7 separate regions of the Homo sapiens genome follow, and regions 1, 2, 3, 4, 5 and 7 are each linked to region 6. The links are contacts of gene promoters, found by promoter capture Hi-C in blood cells and fetal thymus (Javierre and others, 2016). All regions are on one chromosome and are shown on one strand. The core of a region is centred on a gene start or on the middle of the fragment in contact, and the rest is flanking DNA. Distances in the headings are between cores, read along the strand shown. Region 1 has its middle 18 kb from the start of PRRC1. Region 2 overlaps MEGF10 (multiple EGF like domains 10). Region 3 has its middle 46 kb from the start of PRRC1. Region 4 overlaps MEGF10 (multiple EGF like domains 10). Region 5 overlaps PRRC1 (proline rich coiled-coil 1). Region 6 holds the start of MARCHF3 (membrane associated ring-CH-type finger 3). Region 7 overlaps MEGF10 (multiple EGF like domains 10).

Evidence for each region. The method cuts DNA at HindIII sites, captures the fragments that hold promoters and counts their contacts. A CHiCAGO score of 5 or more calls a contact.
Region 1: a contact is called between a fragment that was not itself captured here and the fragment with the promoter of MARCHF3 in region 6, in 3 of 17 cell types (erythroblasts, M1 macrophages and naive B cells). The highest score is 6.9, in erythroblasts.
Region 2: a contact is called between a fragment that was not itself captured here and the fragment with the promoter of MARCHF3 in region 6, in 1 of 17 cell types (megakaryocytes). The highest score is 5.8, in megakaryocytes.
Region 3: a fragment that was not itself captured here is called in contact with the fragment with the promoter of MARCHF3 in region 6 in 1 of 17 cell types (naive B cells); the score reaches 6.0 in naive B cells.
Region 4: a contact is called between a fragment that was not itself captured here and the fragment with the promoter of MARCHF3 in region 6, in 1 of 17 cell types (M2 macrophages). The highest score is 6.0, in M2 macrophages.
Region 5: a fragment that was not itself captured here is called in contact with the fragment with the promoter of MARCHF3 in region 6 in 2 of 17 cell types (erythroblasts and total B cells); the score reaches 6.0 in erythroblasts.
Region 7: a fragment that was not itself captured here is called in contact with the fragment with the promoter of MARCHF3 in region 6 in 3 of 17 cell types (M1 macrophages, M0 macrophages and M2 macrophages); the score reaches 8.2 in M1 macrophages.

What each region holds. Positions count from the first base shown.
Region 1 is chr5:127,498,073-127,500,814 of GRCh38, forward strand. No RefSeq gene overlaps it. Among named protein-coding and RNA genes, the nearest start is that of PRRC1, 18 kb to the right of the region's middle. The HindIII fragment of the contact is 4,735 bases long and covers 1-2,742 here.
Region 2 is chr5:127,451,621-127,454,449 of GRCh38, forward strand. The region is part of intron 22 of MEGF10 (multiple EGF like domains 10); the gene reads left to right. Among named protein-coding and RNA genes, the nearest start is that of PRRC1, 65 kb to the right of the region's middle. The HindIII fragment of the contact is 2,246 bases long and covers 251-2,496 here.
Region 3 is chr5:127,470,129-127,472,958 of GRCh38, forward strand. No RefSeq gene overlaps it. Among named protein-coding and RNA genes, the nearest start is that of PRRC1, 46 kb to the right of the region's middle. The HindIII fragment of the contact is 1,881 bases long and covers 486-2,366 here.
Region 4 is chr5:127,403,061-127,406,072 of GRCh38, forward strand. All of the region lies in intron 8 of MEGF10 (multiple EGF like domains 10), which reads left to right. Among named protein-coding and RNA genes, the nearest start is that of PRRC1, 110 kb to the right of the region's middle. The HindIII fragment of the contact is 7,427 bases long and covers 1-3,012 here.
Region 5 is chr5:127,531,541-127,534,267 of GRCh38, forward strand. PRRC1 (proline rich coiled-coil 1) reads left to right here. Exons shown (of 9, transcript NM_130809.5): 6 at 2,083-2,246. Among named protein-coding and RNA genes, the nearest start is that of PRRC1, 15 kb to the left of the region's middle. The HindIII fragment of the contact is 651 bases long and covers 998-1,648 here.
Region 6 is chr5:127,029,293-127,032,101 of GRCh38, forward strand. MARCHF3 (membrane associated ring-CH-type finger 3) reads right to left here and starts at 1,266. Exons shown (of 5, transcript NM_178450.5): 1 at 1,058-1,266. It overlaps LOC105379163 (a long non-coding RNA gene), which reads left to right and starts at 2,051. Exons shown (of 2, transcript XR_007058920.1): 1 at 2,051-2,809. RefSeq lists a silencer at 1,228-1,607 and an enhancer at 1,604-2,148. The HindIII fragment of the contact is 7,560 bases long and covers 1-2,809 here.
Region 7 is chr5:127,430,883-127,433,893 of GRCh38, forward strand. It overlaps MEGF10 (multiple EGF like domains 10), which reads left to right. Exons shown (of 25, transcript NM_001256545.2): 14 at 2,481-2,627. Among named protein-coding and RNA genes, the nearest start is that of PRRC1, 85 kb to the right of the region's middle. The HindIII fragment of the contact is 2,716 bases long and covers 202-2,917 here.

The sequences.
Region 1 (2,742 bases), core at 13-2,512, 470 kb after region 6:
TTTTAGTTAATAATAATGCATCAATATTCGTTCATTAATTGTAACAAATTTACTACACTAATGCACGATGTTAATAAAATGAGAAACTGTGATTGGGGTGATAAATAGAAACCCTCTGTATCTTCTGCTTATTTTTTCTGTAAACCTAAAATGGCTCTAAAAAATAAAGTTGATTAATTAAATAAGCAAGAGAGAGAGGGTTTTGGAGCCTAACAAAGATTCAAATCCTGGTTCTCTCACTTATAATTTGTGTGGGCTTCTGTCCTGACATTTTAGAAACTGATTTTTTTTTCTCATCAGAAAATAAAGATAAAAATATTTACCTCCTAGAATTATTTTGGATTTGAGTGAGCTAATACATGAGAAGCTCCAGAGAGAGCCTGGTACACAGTAGACATTCAGCATTTATTAACTCTTCTAGCTTTCCCTTTCTTTATGAACATTACTACTTGATAGTTACTAAACAATGTAGGAGAAGATGGGCAAGAAATCACCAGGAGCAGTAGCAGAAGCAAAAGTGTAGTTGAAGATGCCAGAGATGATCTAACAAAGAGATCAACTTTTGAGGCTGCATAACATAAAAAGCATTCCTGTCGAGAGACTACTGTGAATAAGAGAATATATTAAGCAAATGAGGCACTGAACTGGATTGAAATTTATACACTATGTGGCATTTGAAAATGAGCAGTAAGCTGTCTTGTGAACTGACACTTCATCTTTGAATATTCCACTCTGTGAGAATGCTTATGCAGTGCTGCCCAACAGAATGTTGTAAAATGATGGAAATGTTTTTGTCCACTGTCAAATATAGTAGGCATTCACCAAATGTAGCTAATTAGCACTTGAAATGTGGCTAGTATGACTGAAGAACAAATTTATTTTATTTTATTATGTTTCAATTTAAATTTAAGTAGTCATATGGGGCTGGTGGCTGTCAAATTGGACAGTTTAGACAATCTTCAAAAAAATGATAAGCACATAGCAAGGAAAATTAGAAAATAATTTGACATGAATGAAAATGAAGACACAACATAATGAAACTCACAGGATGTAGCTAAAGCAGTGCTTAAAAGGAAATGTATAGCTGTAAATACCTATATTAAGAAAGAAGAAAGACCTCAAATCAACAGCTTAACATTTCACCTAAGACAGTAGAAAAGAAAACTAAATGCAATGCAAACAAGGAAGAAAATTAGGATTCGAGCAGAAATTAATGAAACAGGGCCTAGAAAAACCATGAAGAAAATCAACAAAACCAGAACTTTGTTTTTTGAAAGAATAGACAAAATTGACAAACCTCAGCTAAACTGACCAAAGAAAAACAGAGGAGACTTAACTTACTAAAATCAGAAATGAAGCAGAGGACATTACCTTGCATAAATAAAAAGGATTATGAAGGAATACTATGAACAGATAATAACAAGTGTTAACAAGGATTTGGAGTAATTGGAACTCTCATATTGCTGGTGGAAACATAAAACATTGCAGCCATTTATGAAAACAGACCAACAGTTGCTCAAAAGATTTAACACTGAGTTACTCTATGATCCAGCAATTAGACTCTGAAGTGTATACACAAGAGAAATGAAAACACATGTCCACATAAAAACTTGTACATGAATGTTCACAACACCCTTATTCATAATAACCAAAAAGCGGAAACAACCCAAATGCCCATCAATTGATGAATGGATGAATAAAATGTGTGTCATTCATACAGTAGGATATTTTTCATCAATAATAAGAAATAAAGTACTGATACATGAATAAATTTTGAAAATATGTTAAGTGAAAGACACCAGTCATAAAGGGCCCCATATTGTCTGATTCCATTCATTTCAAATAGGTAAATTGGAAAGGCAAATCTGTAGCAATGGAAAGCAGATTAATAGTTGCCTAGCACTAGGGGTGAGGTCTGCTAGGGGTATGGGCAGGTCATCACCTGCCCATGACTAAGGGGAATAGAGATTCCTTTTGGGGTGGTGAGAATGTTCTAAAATTGATTACGGTGATGGATACACAGCTCTGTGAATATACTAAAGCCATTGGATTGTATACTTTAAATGGATGAGTTGTATGTCAACTATACCTCTTATAGCTGTAATTAAAAAAAAACAAGCAAAGTGGAGGGAGCAATACTTCAGGCACTAACAATTTACAAAATTGTAGCTTCAGCAGTGGTTGTTCTTTGTTTCCGGGGTTCCTAGAAAACCCAACACCATGTGTTCATAACAAAGTTTCCAGGTTTCCTTGGGCCAGCCCAATCCCACCTTATTAATTTCCTGCTAACCTTCAACCTAATCTCACCCTCAACAATGCAAGCATACAGGAATTGAACCTGCATATGGAGTCTCATGAAACAATCAATAATTTTTTCATTTTGAGGAAAAAATTTTCTATTTTCTATTGCTGAAATTAAATTTACATTGCTTAATGTTTTGTCAAATTTGGATTTGATGACCATAATAACATGGTATTACAGTTGAAGTTTTGATTTGATCATTATTCTTCCAAAGATAACATGGATGCAAAATTTCATTTCTTAAATTTGTTTTGACTTTTAAAAATGCTTACACAGTTAAGATTTTATGTTAGAATTTTGTACAAGTAGGATTTTTTACTGATTTTTAGTTGCTTCGTTAAGGAGAAATAAAATCTCATGACAAAATCAGACTGTTGGAGTGTCTGGCAGTAGTTACAACAGTTGCCAAGATATTTTTATGTCTGAAAACCAGAACAATT
Region 2 (2,829 bases), core at 124-2,623, 420 kb after region 6:
TATCTTAGACCACTGTGAAGACTCCAGAAGATACGGCATCACTGTACTGGTCACATGTAAATGTCTCTGCTTTCTGGCTCAATGAGACCCAAGGGACTGAGTGTTAGGAACCTAGGATCTTCATTGGAAATTCTGGATCTTCTTGGTTTGTTCTCACTCAGGAATAATTCTGCATTTAACATCCCTTTAAAGTTGTTGCACAGAAAAAGTTCTTCACAAAGGACAGAGTCAGGCATGTTATGGATGATAAAGCTTACAGGTGCTTTAAATGATGGAATAGTTGTCGTCATGGTATCTGAAAGAGCCTTGAACTAGACACAAAAGACCCTGAGATATAGCACTGGGCCAGTCACTTACCCTCACTTACCCTTGATTCGTTCATTTGTGAAATGGGAGTAATAAGCATGTACTGGCTCGTTTTGTGAATTAAATTAAACCAAGCATTTGAAAGCCCTGCTCCAGGGATGGGTGTATATAGGAGTTTATAGGGAATCCTGACTGCTCCCTCATTAAAACAGCTCCCTGATCCTCCAAGGCAATGAAGACAGAATCTGGCAGGGGTGTCTGGCCTCATAGCCCCAGCTCTTATTCCCTAACTTACTATCTGCTCCATGCTGGTTCTCTCTTTCACACCTTGGTGGAAGGCTAGCCACTGCACAGCTAAGATTAAAATGGGCATTTAATAAGACTTTGCTACAGTCTGGAGATGGCCAAGAGTATTTGGCAAAGAGGAGCATAGACAGAGCTCCTTGATAAAGCTGTTCTCAGAGGCCACAGACTGTGCCCCATCTTCATGGGTCCTCTTTATAAAGTCTGGGAATTCCCAAGACCACCCTGACTTCTGACATCAGCTACAAGTTGAAAGATCACCAAGACGACCCTCAGGATCAACATTTTGCTACAAGGAGTCACTGAACTCACTGAATGGGCATTCTCATGGTTACAGTTTATGGGGGGCTCAGTCATATAGACATGATTGACTCCCATCATGTAGACATGATTGACCTTTAGTCTTTCCCCTTCCAGAGGTGGAGATGATACCATATGGCCCAAACCCCCCACCATAAATCACTTGGTTACACTATCCGGTGTATCCCTGGGCCTCCGGGTGAACAAAAGCACTCCTATTGGGCAGGACAGTCCAAGGACTTCAAGATCACCTCCCAGGAGCTGAGGGCAAAGGCCACCCCTTTCTTTGATAAGGTTAATTCTTCACTACACACCCATTTATGCTGCCTCCCTGCATAACCGTGTGCCCTTCCCCCCAGCTATGGGCTTGGTTAGACTCTTCACAACCCAGATGCAAGAGAGTGTGCCTGAGAGAGGAAAATATTCCCATTTCCTGTCCCACGATGATTGATATCTGACAGACCCTCTCCCTTTAGGAGAGGCTGCTTCCTTCTCCACAACAGTGTGTGCTTACTCAGTGATCCCCATGGGACACCAACATCAGAACTTGAGCTTAACATCTCTCTAAGAGATGCATGCACAGTGGCAAGGATATCGTTTCCTTAACATTCTCAAATACTTACCTGGAATGTTCATTGCTAGTTGTTACTTTACTCTCTGCTTTTAACCTAAGTCTGTAACATTCTTATTGTATTGTATTTCAAAAGATTAGTGATGAAGTTTTGCCATATTGCCCAGGCTGGTCTTGAACTCCTGGGCTCAAGCAATCCACCCACCTTGGCCTCCCAAAGTCCTGGGATTACAGGCATGAGCCACCGCACCCGGCCTGTAATATTCTTTTGAAAGGCAATTGAAAATGCCTTGGAGTGCTTAAGGAAAGACTGAAGCAGAGGGTAGTATAATGCACTGAGCGTTAGAGTAATTGACACACTTCATTTGTATGGTGCTTCAGAGTTTACAAAGCCTTTTCATATGCTCTGTTTCACTTAATGATGACAAAAACCCTGGAAGGCTGGAAGGCAAATTTTGTTTTCCCCATTTTAGAGATGAGAAAATTGACACTCAGAGGGTGGAACATCTTGCCCAAAGTCCTATGGCCAATAAGTTATAACATGTAATTCCTTTGTCTCCTAATCTATAGTTTTCTCCTTTTTTGTCACAACACAGCTCCAATAGAATAATTGACTCCCATGCAGTATTAACAATGCAATTTTGCACGTATACACCAGATAGTATAAAATGGGCTAGGTAATGTCGTCTTATTTTGTTTTTAGTAGTGCGAATTTGTGATTAAATGCTTATATTTTATACAACATGCTTGTGACCTGATTGATTTCTGTAAGTGGTTGCACGTTCTCTTGCCTACATGCTCAATTTTTCCAGCATGAGCCGGAACACTCCTATTTCCCTCCCCACACCCACGAAATAAAGGCTGGCCATTTTCCAATGAGAAAGCAGGTTTTTTTGTGTGTATCTAGGCTCATACACAATTATGTCCCCATACCTGGAAAAGTCAAATTATGAAAAGCTGAATAAAGAAGGGCAAGAGCTAGTATCACCTGTAAAGTATTAGTCAACAGTGTTCGAAGCTTCCAGTCTCCAGAAAACATGCTTATAGTGAAGACAATAATATAACCGAATAATGATTATTGGGAAAACTATTTGAAAACCATCAGAGCCTTGAAAGAGCTGCACGTAGGTATGAAATGTCAACTCTGGTCTTGGCTGTATCCTTTCTTTTCACTGTGCAACCTTGAATCAAGTATACTGATTTATCTCTGGGCCTCAGTTTCTATCCTGTTTTGACTAGCTTTTCCTGAGTCACTGTAAATGACTAGGTGAATGACCAAATGTGTGTGTGTTTAATTCTAGGCACTGGGGACATCTGGGACAACTGATCTGGTGTAAAGGCTTGAAGAG
Region 3 (2,830 bases), core at 176-2,675, 440 kb after region 6:
ATCTTAAAACACCAGAATGAAAGGCTAGATTTTTCTTACTTGCCTGCGATATTGAGAGAGACCCTTGACAGGCTCTGAAATGTTGGACTTCAGGAACGATGCATTATTTATAAAGTGGAGAAAGGGAGAAAACAGTGCAAGAAAAAAGATACAGAGGCTTACAATATTGCTCTTTTCCCTCTTAGAGAAAAGTATAAGATGATTGCCAATGAATACCCTTAAACCCAGAGTGAGGAACCATGTATATTAATTAATAGAAAAATGCCTTTTTGTTGTTAAAAGAGCATTTTTCCTTTGGTGAGAAAACTCACTTCTCTTTGACATCAGCACATGGTACATGTAAGATAGGTTCCCACTGAAAGTTTTTGATGGCGTGAGCCAATATAAAAACATTATGTAACTCACTAAATGTTTTAGACACTTTTAAGACAAAAATCAGTATTAAATATCATAAATATTAAGAAGCCACATTGCCATTAAGTGAAAGCTTAAAGACTAAGCACAATCTATTAAAACACTGTCATGCAACTTTACATACAGGCATATACCTCAGATATATTGCAGGTCCCAGATCACTGCAATAAAGATACTATCATAATAAAGTGAGTCACACAAATGTTTTGGTTTTCCAGTGTATATTAAAGTTATGTTTACACAATACTATAGCCTATTAAGTGTGCATTATGTGCATTATAGCATTATATCTAAAAATGAACATAATTAAAAATACTTTATTGCTAAAAACTGCTGAGCCTTCGACAAATCATCTTTTCGGTAGTTTACGATCTTACCTTAATGTGGATGGTAGCTGACTTATCAGGGTGGTTGTTGCTGAAGGTTGAAGTGGCTGAGATGTTTTCTAAATATAAGACAACAATGAAATCTGTTGCATTGATTGACTCTTCCTTTCATGCAAGATTTCTCTGTAGCATGTGATGCTGCTTGATAGCATTTTACCCATAGTAGAACTTCTTTCAAAAATTGGGGTCAATCTTCTCAAACTCTGCCACTTCTTTAAGAATAAATTTATATAATATTCTAAATCCTTTATTGTCATTTCAACAATGGTCACAGCATCTTTATGAGTAGATTTCTTCTCAAGAAATCACTTTCTTTGCTCATCCATAAAAAGTAACTCCTTACATGCTATAACATTAGATTGCAGCAATTCAGTGACGTCTTCAGTTCTAATTCTAGTTCTCTTGCTATATCTATGACATCTGTAGCTACTTCCTTCCCTGAAGTCTTAAACCTCTCAAAGTCATCCATGAGGACTGAAATCAACTTCCTCCAAACTACTATTAATGTTAGTATTTTCACCTCCTCCCATGAATCACAATTGTTCTTCATGGCATCTAGAATGACGAATCTTTTCCAGGCAGCTATAACTCTATAATACATTTTTTTAAATAAAAAGACTTGAAGTTGGACTTGATCATTGACCCATAGACTACAGAATGGATATTGTACCAGCAGCCATGAAAACAACATTAATATCCTTGTACATCTCTGTCAGAACTCTTGGGTGACTAGGTACATTGTCAGTGAGCAGTAATATTTTGAAAGGAATATTATTTTATGAGCAGTAGGTCTTAGTGGTGGAATTAAAATATTCAGTAAACCATACTGTAAACAGATACGCCATCATCCAGGTTTTGCTGTTACATTTATAGAGCACAGGAGGACTAGATTTAGCATAATTCTTAAAGGTACTAGGATTTGCAGAATAGTAGATGAGCATTGGCTTTAACTTAAAGTCACCAGCTGCATTAGCCCCTAACCAGAGTCAGCCTGTCCTTTGAAAACTTGAAGCCAGACACTGATGTTCCCTTTCTAGCTATAAAAGTCCTAGATGCATCTTCTTTCAATACAAGTCTGTTTCACTGACACTGAAAATCTGTTGTTTAGTGTATTTATCTTTATCAGTGATCTTAGCTAGACCTTCTGGATAACTTGCTGCAGCTTCTACGTCAGCACTTCTTGCTTCACCCTGCCCTTATGTGTTATGGAGATGGTTTCTTTCCCCTAAGCCTCATGAACGGACCTCTGTTAGCTTCAACTTTTGGTCTGCAGCTTTCTCACCTCTCTCAGCCTTCACAGAACTAAAGAGAGTTAGGGACTTGCTCTGGATTAGGCTTTGGCTTAAAGGAATGTTGTAGCTGGTTTGATCTTCTACCCAGACCACTCAAACTTTCTCTCTCCTAGCAATAAGACTCTTTCACTTTTTAAATCACTCATGTGTTCACTGGAGTAGCACGTTTAATTTCTTTCAAGGACTTTCCTTTGCATTCCCAACTTGGCTAACTGTTTGGCACAAGAGGCCTAGCTTTCAGCCTATTTTGGCTTTCAACACACCTTCCTCACTAAGCTTAATCATTTCTAGCTTTTAATTTAAAGCAAGAGACATGCAACTCCTCCTTTCACTTGAACACTTACAAGCGTTGTGGGATTATTAATTGGCCTAATTAAATATTGTTGTGTCTCAGGGAATAGGGAGGCTCAGGGAGAGGGAGAAAATCAAGGGAACTGCCAGTTGTAGCAGTTCGAACACATACAACATTCATTGATTAAGTTCATCATCTATCCACATAGTTTGTGGTGCCCCAAAACAATTACAATAGTAATATCAAAGGTCACTGATCACGGATCACCATAACAGATATAATTATAATAAAAAATTTGAAATATTGCAAGAATATCCAAAATGTGACACAGTTATAAAGTGAGAACACGCTGTTGGAAAATGGCACCAATAGACTTGCGCAATGCAGAATTGCCACAGACCTTCAATTGGATAAAACAACAACAACAATGCAGTATCTGAGAAGCT
Region 4 (3,012 bases), core at 479-2,978, 370 kb after region 6:
AGTTACTTTCTTATGATTCAGTATTCTGTTAAGAATATTGATCATTATATTGTGTGGTGGCGATAGAGTCAGATCTGCTGGAACTTATAGGGCCCTCTGGTCCCACACGAAACAGAAAAAATGGCTGTGCTCATGCGGGTCTTACTGCCGCTGTTTATCATCCTCTGTATTTAATGGTAAACTGTTATCTCAGAGCGCTTTGCACACCCTACTTCTTTTTCTTTAATTTTTTTATTTTTATTTTTTTTGTGGGCACATAGTAGTTGTATATATTTATGGGGTACATGAGATGTTTTGATACAGGCTTGCAATGTGAACTAAGCACATTATGCGGAATGGGGTATCCATCCCCTCAAGTATTTATCCTTTGAGTTACAAGCAATTCAATTACACTCTTCAAATTATTTCAGAAAGTACAATGAAGTTACTATTGACCATAGTCACCCTATATGCTATCAAATAGTAGGTCTTAGTCATTCTTTCTAATTTTTTTTGTACCCATTAACCATCCCCATTTCCTCCACACCCTCCCACTATCCTTCCCAGCCTCTGGTAACCATTCTTCTACTCTCTGTGTCCATGAGTTCAATTGTTTTGATTTTTAGATCCCACAAATAAGTGAGAACATGTGATGTTTGTCTTTCTGTGCCTAGCTTATTTCATTTAACATAATGATCTCCAGTTCTATCCATGTTGTTGCAAATTACTGGATCTCATTCTTTTTATGGCTGAATAGTACTCCATTGTGTATATGTACCACATTTTCTTTATCCTTTCGTCTGTTGATAGACACGTAGGTTGCTTCCAAATCTTAGCTATTGTAAACAGTGCTGCAACAAACATAGGAGTGCAGATATCACTTCCATATACTGATTTACTTTCTTTGGGTATATACCCAGCAGTGGGATTGCTGGATCATAAGGTAGCTCAATTTTTAGTTTTTTGAGGAACCTCCAAACTGTTCTCCATAGTGGTTGTACTAATTTACATTCCCACTCACAGTGTACAAGGGTTCCGTTTTCTCTGCATCCTCACCAGCATTTGCTGTTGCCTGTCTTTTGGATATAAGCCATTTTTAACTGGCTTGAGATTATATCTCATTGCATATATAAATGCAAATCATTGTAGTTTTGATTTGCATTTCTCTGATGATCAATTGTGTTGAGCACCTTTTCATATGCCTGTTTGCCATTTGTATGTCTTCTTTCAAGAAATGTCTATTCAAATCTTTTGCCTATTTTTGATTGGAATATTAGACTTTTTCCTATAGAATTGTTTGAGCTCCTTATATATGCTGGTCATTAGGTTGGTGCAAAAGTAATTGCGGTTTTTACCATTGAAAGTAACGGTGAAGACCGCAATTACTTTTACACCAACCTATAACCCCTTGTCAGATGGATAGTTTGGAAATACTTTATCTCATTCTGTGGGCTGGCTCTTCACTTTGTTGATTGTATTCTTTGCTCTACAGAAAATTTTTAACATGATGTGTGCATCCTTCTTTTAATGCTCTTGAATCTGTCATGTCCTGGAAGACTAGGTAGCCAGGCTCACTGGATGTGTGTGTAGGATTTGAGAAGAGACTTGAGAGGCAGAAGGTCATAGTGATTGAAAACAATTATTTGGAATCTAGGTTTAGGTAAATGTGTCCCTGGAAACACTTTTTTTTTTTTGAGATGGAGTCTTGTTTTGTCCCCCAGGCTGGAGTGCAGTGGCATGATCTCGGCTCACCACAACTTCCATCTCCCAGGTTCAAGCAATTCTTCTGCCTCAGCCTCCCTAGTAGTTGGGATTACAGGCGCATGCTGCCATATCAGGCTAATTTTTTGTATTTTAGTAGAGATGGGGTTTCACTGTGTTGCCCAGGTTGGTATCGAACTCCTGAGCTCAGGCAATCTGCCTGCCTCAGCCTCCCAAAGTGCTAAGATTACAGGCGTTGGAAACACCTTTGTCTGTAACATCCTAATAATAATTGTGCTTCTCTCTAGGGTTGTAAGGATTAAATAAGTTAGTGTGTTAAAACATTTAAAACAGCCCTGGAACTTATCAGATTTTATTATTCTAGAGCAATTTCTATGAACTATGTAAATACTAGTGATTATCAGTTTGAGTGCTGTTTACAAGCTGCATAAATATTAGCTATCATTATTTTTTATGATGTCTTTGAATTAAGAATTCCCTCAACTTTTTTCCCCTTATTTTTTCTCTTTCTAAATCTTGGTCTAATTTTATGACTTTTAATAAGATACTGTCATGTTTGTTGCCTCCTGCCTCCAACTTAGACCCTGTACTTTCTTATTAAATTTATTTCTGAGTATTTTGTAATTTTTTAAAATTTCATTTCTGCCTGTAATTGGATATTTCTGGTTGAAGAAAAACTTGCTTTTGACTATTTACTTTTTAATTTATTCATACTACCAAACTTTCAAGGTAATTTTAATGTTGTTTTTAGCAAACTCTGGAGTTATTTAGTTATACTATCATATCATCTACAAATAAACATAAGTTAGTCTTTTCTTTTCAATATGTATAATGATTATTTCATTTCCTTGAATTATTGCATAAATTTGAGCCTCCAAATTAATGTTGACAAACAGCAGTAAAAGTAAAAATCCCTGTCTTGTTTCCAAATTTATTGGAATGGCTTCAGTATAGTCTCATGTTTGCTATTGGTATTTAGTAAATTATTTTCTTCATTCTTAAGTAGTTTTTTAAATCCCTTTTTTTAATTAAAAATTTTGTTAATAGTAGCTGCTTAATTTCATTAAATGCCTTTTTTTCTTTTGCTAATATAATTACATATTTTTCCTTTAATTTTTCATGCAATGAATTATTGACATCCTTAGTACACAGTTTTTATAACATGTAATTGGACTACTCAGATTTTGTAACTGACATCCTGGTTTTAGGTTGTATTTTGGATAGATTAGGCTGTTAGATAATTTCTGGATCCATTTAACATCTTATTATAGAAAAATGAGTTGGGGTAAGGGAGACACAAGACCAAGCACT
Region 5 (2,727 bases), core at 73-2,572, 500 kb after region 6:
GACTATGAAAGCAATTACCTTATTTAATCCTTAGAGCAAACCCTATGAGGTGCCAGGTGTTTTTATTCTTCTTCTTCTTTTTTTTTTTTTTTTTTTTTTTGAGACAGAGTCTCACTCTGTCACTCAGACTGGAGTGCAGTGGCGTGATCTCAGCTCACTACAACCTCTGCCTCCTGGGTTCAAGTTATTCTTATGTCTCAGTCTTCTGAGTAGCTGGGACTACAGCCGTGTGCCACCACGCCCAGCTAATTTTTGGTAGAGACGGGGTTTCTCCATGTTGGCCAGGCTGGATAGCAGGCATTTTTCTACAAAGAAACAAGCTCAGTGACTTCCACAAGGTAAAGAAGCTAGTAAATGATAAAGGTAGAGCCATCAAGAAAAATGTGTAACACCGAAGGGGAAAAAAGAAAGGTACAGAAATGAAATTTCTATTATTAGCAAATGTCATAACTTTATCAGCTTTAAAAAGTAATAAAATCGAATTTAAGAAAGCTGACATCTTTACTGACAGCAAAGCATCACCATTCTGATCTAACAAAACAACTCAAAGTAAATCTTAAGGTTTTTTTTTTTGTTGTTTTTTTTTTGAGGTGGAGTCTCACTCTACCGCCAGGCTGGAGTGCAGTGGTGCAATCTCAGCTCACTGCAACCTCTGCCTCCTGAGTTCAAGCGATTCTCCTACCTCAGCCTCCTGAGTAGCTGGACCTACAGGTGCACGCCACCATGCCCAGCTAATTTTTGTATTTTTAGTAGAGATGGGGTTTCACCATGTTGGCCAGGATGATCTCGATCTCTTGACTTTTTGATCCTCCCGCCTAGGCCTCCCAAAGTGCTGGGATTACAGGCGTGAACCACCGCGCCCGGCCATCTTAAGGTATTTTTACACAAATATTCTAGAAATCATTTGATGTAACAATTTCGTATGTGTCAAGAAACTCAAAAAGTATTAGAAATGGCAGGACTACTCATCACAAGCTGAAAAGCCATTTTGAGCTGAAGCTTAATGGAGCAGTACTTAGCTAAGGTCGAGAGATGTGTCCCATGTGGAGGAAAAAAGTGAAAAAAAAAGTATATTCTTCTTCTCTTTTATGTCCTAGTAACTTCTGAAGTATCCAGTACAGATGTGATCTGTGAGACATTATGTCAGTCAGGAAAAAGGGATCCATTATTTTTAAAACCCAAATATTTGAAAATATCTTTCCCTGTTCCACATGATATTTATTAGGGAAAAACAACCTTGTTTCTAGGGCAAAATGTTTTACATTATAAACAATTTTCATGAAAAATCTCTTTTGCCGGTGATAACTATTAATGCCAAATATCAAAATGTGCTGTGTTTAGAACAAGGGCTTTGAATTCATTATATCACAGAAATGTTTGGTTAAGATTTTTAAAAATAATGAAACATTTGGTCAAATTGATCTGTCTAGAAATAGTAGTACTTAGGTTGTTTAAGTAATTGAAAAATTAAAAATATTTGAAAATATTTTTATTTCGTATTACTCTTAATATTTTAAATTTTAAGTTTTATGTGTTATTTCAATTTCATATATGCTTGCATATTTATATTAGGGCAGTAGTACATGTATAATTGATAAATATCTATTTGTGGTGTATGCTCAGAACATTGTGGGGATATTTAATAAAAAGCTTGATGACCCCATATTTAAACTATTTTCTAGGTTAAAAAGTATATTTCATGGTAGTGCTTGTTTAGTACATAACTTCTCTGCAACTCATTGACAAATCACTTACTATCAGTAAGTCTTTATTTTAATTTTCCGTGGAGTATACTAAATATGTAACTTACACTTCACAAGCCAGATATGTGATTTCTGGCTTGTGATATGTAATGTCAGTTTTGAGTCCTGACATTAGTGCTAAGTAGATACGTTACCTTGGGCAAAACTTTGTTGGCCTCAGTTTTCTCAAGCATATAAAAAAGATAATGATCTATATCTTGCATGGTTTTATGAAACTGGTAATAATTATGTATATTAGATGTTAGCACCTGGTATGGTAGTAATTATGAGAATTTCATTATTTTAATTTGAAAGTTAAATTTTCCTCTGGTCTTTTTAGAATCTGGAGGTGAACTGGATATTGTAGTGACCTCAAATAAAGAAGTAAAAGTTGCTGCTGTCCGAGATGCCTTCCAGGAGGTCTTTGGCTTAGCTGTGGTTGTAGGGGAAGCTGGACAGTCCAATATTGCCCCACAACCAGTGGGCTATGCAGCTGGATTAAAAGTGAGTAACAGAACACCATTTTCAGGACATGGAAACTGGCATTTAATTTTTTCACAATTCTGATAATCTGTTGTCTCTATGGAGCTAATAGACTTTTACATACTGAAATAACAATGAACTTTGCTTTTAGTAGACAGCCCTATCGTATTATGAAGATATAGTGGAGTTTTAATTTAAAGAAATTTAAGATAGGTTTTGATTATTGTGGGAGGGAAAGAAACATTGAGAGAGCACAAAAGGAATAGTTAGTCCTAAAAGAGATCTTCTTAATCCAGCATTAACATTCAAATCAATTACTGAGATGATAATATCCCTTGAATCCCATAAGCTTTTATTATCCCTATTGATAATGCTTAAAAATATGTAAGTTCCAGGAATTCCGTCCTCTCTTTCATACTTTATTTTCCTCTCTTTGTGTTATTACCAGCATACAGTCATGCAAGAACAAATTAACAGTTCATTGGCATACAAACATCTTTCT
Region 6 (2,809 bases), core at 16-2,515:
ATATCTCAACATTTTCATGTATTTTCAAAGGTCTAAACATCCCCAAATTCTGGACCTGTTTCTGTCTAGTATTTTCAAAAGCTCTTATTCATGTCAAATAAGAATTGTAAGAAAATATCGTATTGAATTCTGTTTATTCCGCACATAATATAAACTACATGCATGTAGTTGGTCTCAGAAAAACAAGCTGCTTTTACCCCCTTACCATTAAGGGGGGAAAACAATCTAACCCAGACCGAGTCACAAACGGAGTGTCAGGTTTAACCTTGAGTTCTCTGCTGTCAATTCCTGACTCAACTTCATCACTTAAACACGCAGGTGCTCAAACAAACACCAACCGACCAGGCTGGCAATCCCTTTCGCAGCCTCTAGGATTCTCCAAGGCACTGGGCACCAGAACCGACAGCAGCTCCCGCCTGGTCCTAACGAAGTCCTTCGGACACCCCTTGCGGGTGGATGTGGAGGTCCGAGCACCTCAGGAGGGTCATGGATTCAAGTGCTAATAGAAAGCAATTACTTTAGAAAGTTCAAAGCCCAGCAGTGCTCTCAATTCCTCTCAGTAGCTGCAGAGCACTGAAGCCCCCGCTACAGAACCCGGCTGGTACTCCAGTTCTCTGGCGCTGAGACCCACCTTGAGCCCGATGAGCGCTCGCTCAGCCTTGAGATCCAGACGCGGACGCCGGGTCTTACCGTACCGCACAGCGCGGGTAATTTTTCAGGAACCGCGGTCCGCACGCCGCGGGCGCGGAGGCCGCCCCAGCGCTCCATGTCGTTGCCGCAGAGGGGCAGGGGACGCGTCCCGGCCCCACCTACCCATGTCAATTACGCCAAGTTGGTGCGGACTGGAACCGCGTCCCGGGCGGAGTTGGGATGCTTTGACAAGAAGAAGTTCGGGAGTGGGGATATTGGCACGGAGTAAATCCCGCCCAGCCCTGACCTCCCCACAGCGGTCACGCTCGGACGAACGGACCGCCGAGCGCCAGGACGCGTCCCGTCCCCTCTCGCCGCCGCCGAACCGCGCCGAGAGGAGCCGCTAGCCCGGCGCGCGGCCACTCACCGTCCTCGCCGAGTCCCGATAGCAAACCGACGTCCCTGCTGCGGTTCTAAGTGCCAAGTTGCCCCCAGTCGGTGGCTGCTCACGGCCCAGTGGACCAGGGCACATTGGTTCCGGCGGGCACCTCAGGGGGAGTGCGGCAAGCCTGGCGGCCGCCGCGGCCACACAGTCGCCCACAGCGCGCTGACAATTCACGGACCTGCTCAACGAGTGAGGCGGAAAGCAGGGCTAAGCCGACCAGGCTCTGGAGGGGAGGCGGGGCTGCCGCTAGGGGCGGAGCCAGCCCCGGGGCGTCATCAGCCCATGACTGGCGGAGCCGACAGCCAGTCGTGGTGGCGCTGGGACCGCCCCGTAACCGCCGTCCAGTCGCCTGCGGCCGAGGGCAGGCTGGCGGGACGCGCCGGCGGCGGGGAAGTTGGTTATTGCGAAGTGCCGTGGCTGCCGGCGGGCGCTGCGGGACTCTCTGCAATGGGACCCGAGCAGCTCTAGAGGGAGGCGGCGGCCCCAGAAGGCCGTTGGCTGAGAGAGACCAGGAGCCCTCGGAGCCGCCGCGCGCATAGCGCTGTGGAGCAAGAAGCCAACCGCAGCGCGGGTCGACACGCCAGTATCTGGCACCGGCAGGAGGCGCGGAACTTAGCTGCCCCATCGGAACCCCGCCCGGAGGAAGCTGAGGGCCGAGAAAGGATGAATTCCGGACCGGGTCGCCCAGCCACAAGTGGAAACCTGGGCTCTCTGGAAAACGTTCTGATCTCGATCTGGCTATCTCTGAAACAAAACTCCAGCCCCGCAAACCTCCCAAAGTTCAGTACACGTCCCCGTCCTCACCCCTGCCCTCCGGGCCACCTGCAGCGGGGGACTTACCGGCGCCTCGGGTCTCCTCCTCCCGACCCAGCGCGTCGCGGACACAGCTGGCGGCCAACAGGAGGCTTGGGCGCTCGACGGCGCCGGAACCTGTGAGACCGTCGCTCTGGGCGGGCTGCCGTGCGGGGTGGCATCCTCTGCGGTGACTTCTGCTGTCTTTTGGGTCCGCCAGGATTCCAAAATCCCAGGCGGGTCGCTAGAATTATCCATCTTCGTGGACAGGAAGCCCCAGAACGAACCACATCTGTCCCACTCTGCTTCCGCCCTCCTTCCCCTTCGCAAGCTCCTGGCTGGGATGGAGACATCGGACGAGCTCGGAGATCCCGACCTCTCAGGGGTCACTCGCAGCCGAACAGCCTGGAATATGGCCTTGTGGGCCCTTCCCGCCCAACCCCCTAGGACCCCACTGCTCATCTTGTCAACCAGTTTCTGAGCCCCTACCCTGGCTGCAGCACGTGCTCGCACAGGCGCGCTGAGCTACTAACATAGAATCAAAAGCAGGGAGTTGGGTGTTCTTGCTTTCCCGCTGAAACCTAGAATGTAAACAAGCCCTAGACCGTCAGCTGTGGGTGGGTAGGGGCCTCTCCCTGCCTAGAACTGCTCTTGCCATGGGTAGGCACCTAACCCGTATTAGTAAGAATGAAGGAATGCATGCTCATAACAAGAAAGGGGTCAACCTGCTGCCCTGATACTCACCTTCACCACTTACGTCTTGCTTCCAGCGCAAGCCCACTTCAGACCATTGCCTCATTCAGGTCCCAGAAGTCCTAAGGGTTTTAGTCTCTCAGTATGGGCAATTATTCACATGTAAGGGAGCTGCAAGGTGTTATTTCAATGCCATCTGGCCTCTATAAGGTCTTGCATCATAGCTGACCTCTCATGAGAAGGTTCTGA
Region 7 (3,011 bases), core at 310-2,809, 400 kb after region 6:
AGAGGGTGTTGGTAATAGAATTTTTATAATTTATATTCAAAGGAAACATTTCTTTGCAATTCTAAACTAAAAGTTATTTTCAAGTAAGCTTGGGTCTGTTGAAAGATGCTTATATGATTGGACACAGAAGGTTTGATCAATGATCTATAGAATTTGCTATGATTCTCTGGAAATGAAATGATGGGTAAACCATATGAAACAAGCTTATCTCTGCAGTGGATCTTCTTGCTATAGGGTGGGCCTTGTTACTTATACAAACATTACCAGGATATAGTTGATTATGACTGATGGCTAGGCTAATCAGCTGAACAAACCTCTTAAGGGAAGAAGAATAAGTTATGAAAGAGAGGATCTCTTTATTCAGATTTGCCTATCTGGCCTGTAGTCATTTTTCTTACCATGCTCTGATTGAGAATAGGCTAAGCTATACATAAATCATGATAACCTATGATATAAAAAAGCAGCAAATACTTTTGACCTAAAGTGTACTCCATTCCATCTTAACTGAATTTATTAAGTGCAATTTGAAGTAGTGATTTGGCAAGTAGTTGATAAACTAAGTCATCATAAATGGCTAAATCTTACCTGTCCCCCAAGTCCCCACCCTAACAAAAAAGCATAAAAAATCGGGACTGCTTTTTCAGGATGATGATCAGTCAGATTAACAGGATAATTACTCAGTTTCCACTTCTTCAAAATCTTCGTTGGGATTTGTCTTGATGGCATCAGACCAAAATGCCCTGGGTTGATTGTCTAAGTCTCTGTGATAAGCAGGTGTCCCCATCTTAGCTGTTGTTAAGCAGGAGTCTTGGCTCACGGTCAGAGTCTAGGACCTGAATTTGAACTGAGAGCGAAGTGTTTAGCAGGTTACCCTTGTTGGTACTTTCTTTAAATTCTCAAAACAAAGTTTAGGTTTGCAGCCTCATTTTGAAGTGGTTTACTGCTTAATATGTTTGATGCTTCTGCCCAGTATAGGTGTGGATATAAATTCCAGGTAAGATTCTGTGGCTGATGTATCACATCTGGTGAGGGTAGAGTTTGCAATTTCATCTCAGATTTTCAAAAGAGATTTGAAAAAAAAATAATATATTTATGATTGCAAGAAAAAAATCAACATAGTAGGCCCAGATTTCATACTTTATTCTATGGGAAACATTTAAACCCCAATTGGTTTATGAACAGACCTGGTCTCCTTTCTTCAGCCCATGGTCCGAATGAAATAAAAGTCTATTGTTGGGTCAAGCTAGACACAATGAGGTCTGCATGCTTTCTTGCCTATTTAATGGCCTTTACCACGTGGGAGACTTTCAGAAGGAAAAAAACAGGAACAGTAAAAAGTGGATCTTCTTGCTATTCCAGTGTTCACCGGAAATGGTGTACCAATTAACAACATTCACATTATAGTTTGGGACTGCTTCCATGTTAAGGTTCAGACTGTGGTGACTTTTTGCCTGATTACTTTAGAAGCCAAAACTGTAACACAAGACATGACCGTCTCAGCATCGTGGTACTGGGTGGTTGTTAGTATTCTGGAATCCTGGAGGGTCTGCGTGCTTGCTCTTAATGTGTTTTCATTTGGTCTGAGGCCAGCAACTGCCAGTTCACTACTAATTATAACTTATTGCCTTTCAATGTGAAGAACATTTCTTTGAGTTGTGAGGAATTCTGGCAAGAAAGAGGCCCCTGTTGTATTTCCAATACGAATGTACAGAAGAGACTTTTATTTATCTCAAATAAAACCTGGTTTTAGTTTTATTTTTGCAAACTTAGCTTTCCTTTCTGTTTCCTTTTGTCATTTTTTTTAATTCTAAAGTTTCTCAGTATTTAAAATTAGAGTTAAACAACTGCATACAGTTTCATAATAATCGATAGCATAGACAACAGCTACAAATAATGTCAGTTGTGATATTCTGCCAATATCTCTCCAATGTCAGGTAAGATTTTTAAGGAGGAATTTGGTGGCACGTGTCAGTGCATCTTTCTGTTCTGCACAATGCACCATCAAGTTATTTTAAGATTATGTTTATTTGTTTCATCCAGGGGAGGGTTTTCTTTATGTAAAACATTTTATGGAACTGTTCATTGCCTTATCCTTTTACACTTTATTTCTCTGTGAAAACAAAGAATGGGAGGAGGAGGAGGAAGTCACCAAGGGCTAAAAGATATCGTATTGTTGATAAATTTTACTTGCAATAGACAGAGCCCTTGGGCTTCCACTTTATTGCCTCCTCCTGAAGAAGAAAAATCAATATAACAAAAGTTTGTTATTCGTTCTTCATGACTCCATAGAAAATCGGTCTGGGTATTATTTTAATGTTATGATACTGTGTATTGATGTTTATAAGATGGTAACTCTCCATTCATTGCTGCTGGTGATCCTCAGGTTTAACACTGTGAGCTTAGTCCTCATCTATGAATTAGCATCTGCGGAAACTCCGCACTGCCTCTCACTCAGCCTTGCCCCATGTGCATTATTTCAGGTGTCCACTGTGACAGCGTGTGTGCTGAGGGACGCTGGGGCCCCAACTGCTCCCTGCCCTGCTACTGTAAAAATGGGGCTTCATGCTCCCCTGATGATGGCATCTGCGAGTGTGCACCAGGCTTCCGAGGCACCACTTGTCAGAGGAGTAAGTGTCTCATTAGGCAGTAATTTCCACCTTCCCTTCCCTGGGCACCATGTATCGAATAATGATCTCTGTCCCACCTCTCAGTTTATAGTGATGTCCTGTTGCAGTTGAAGGCAAAAGAGAGTGTAATGGTTCACTTGTCCTTTGCAGAACTGTGTTCCCTAAGAGCTTCATTCTTTCCAGCCTTCAGAACTAACCTAACAGATGGGGATTTAACCATTTCTTCTCAATAATTACTTCATTGCCTCATTGGCACAACCATCAGGATATATTTCTTCACCCTTCCTGAAAGCTTTGGAATGGTGTTCTAGAAATTCACTGACCTGTAAATATGTTATTCAGCAGTTTGGCATTGGCCTTACCTCAATTACCAGACGTCAACAT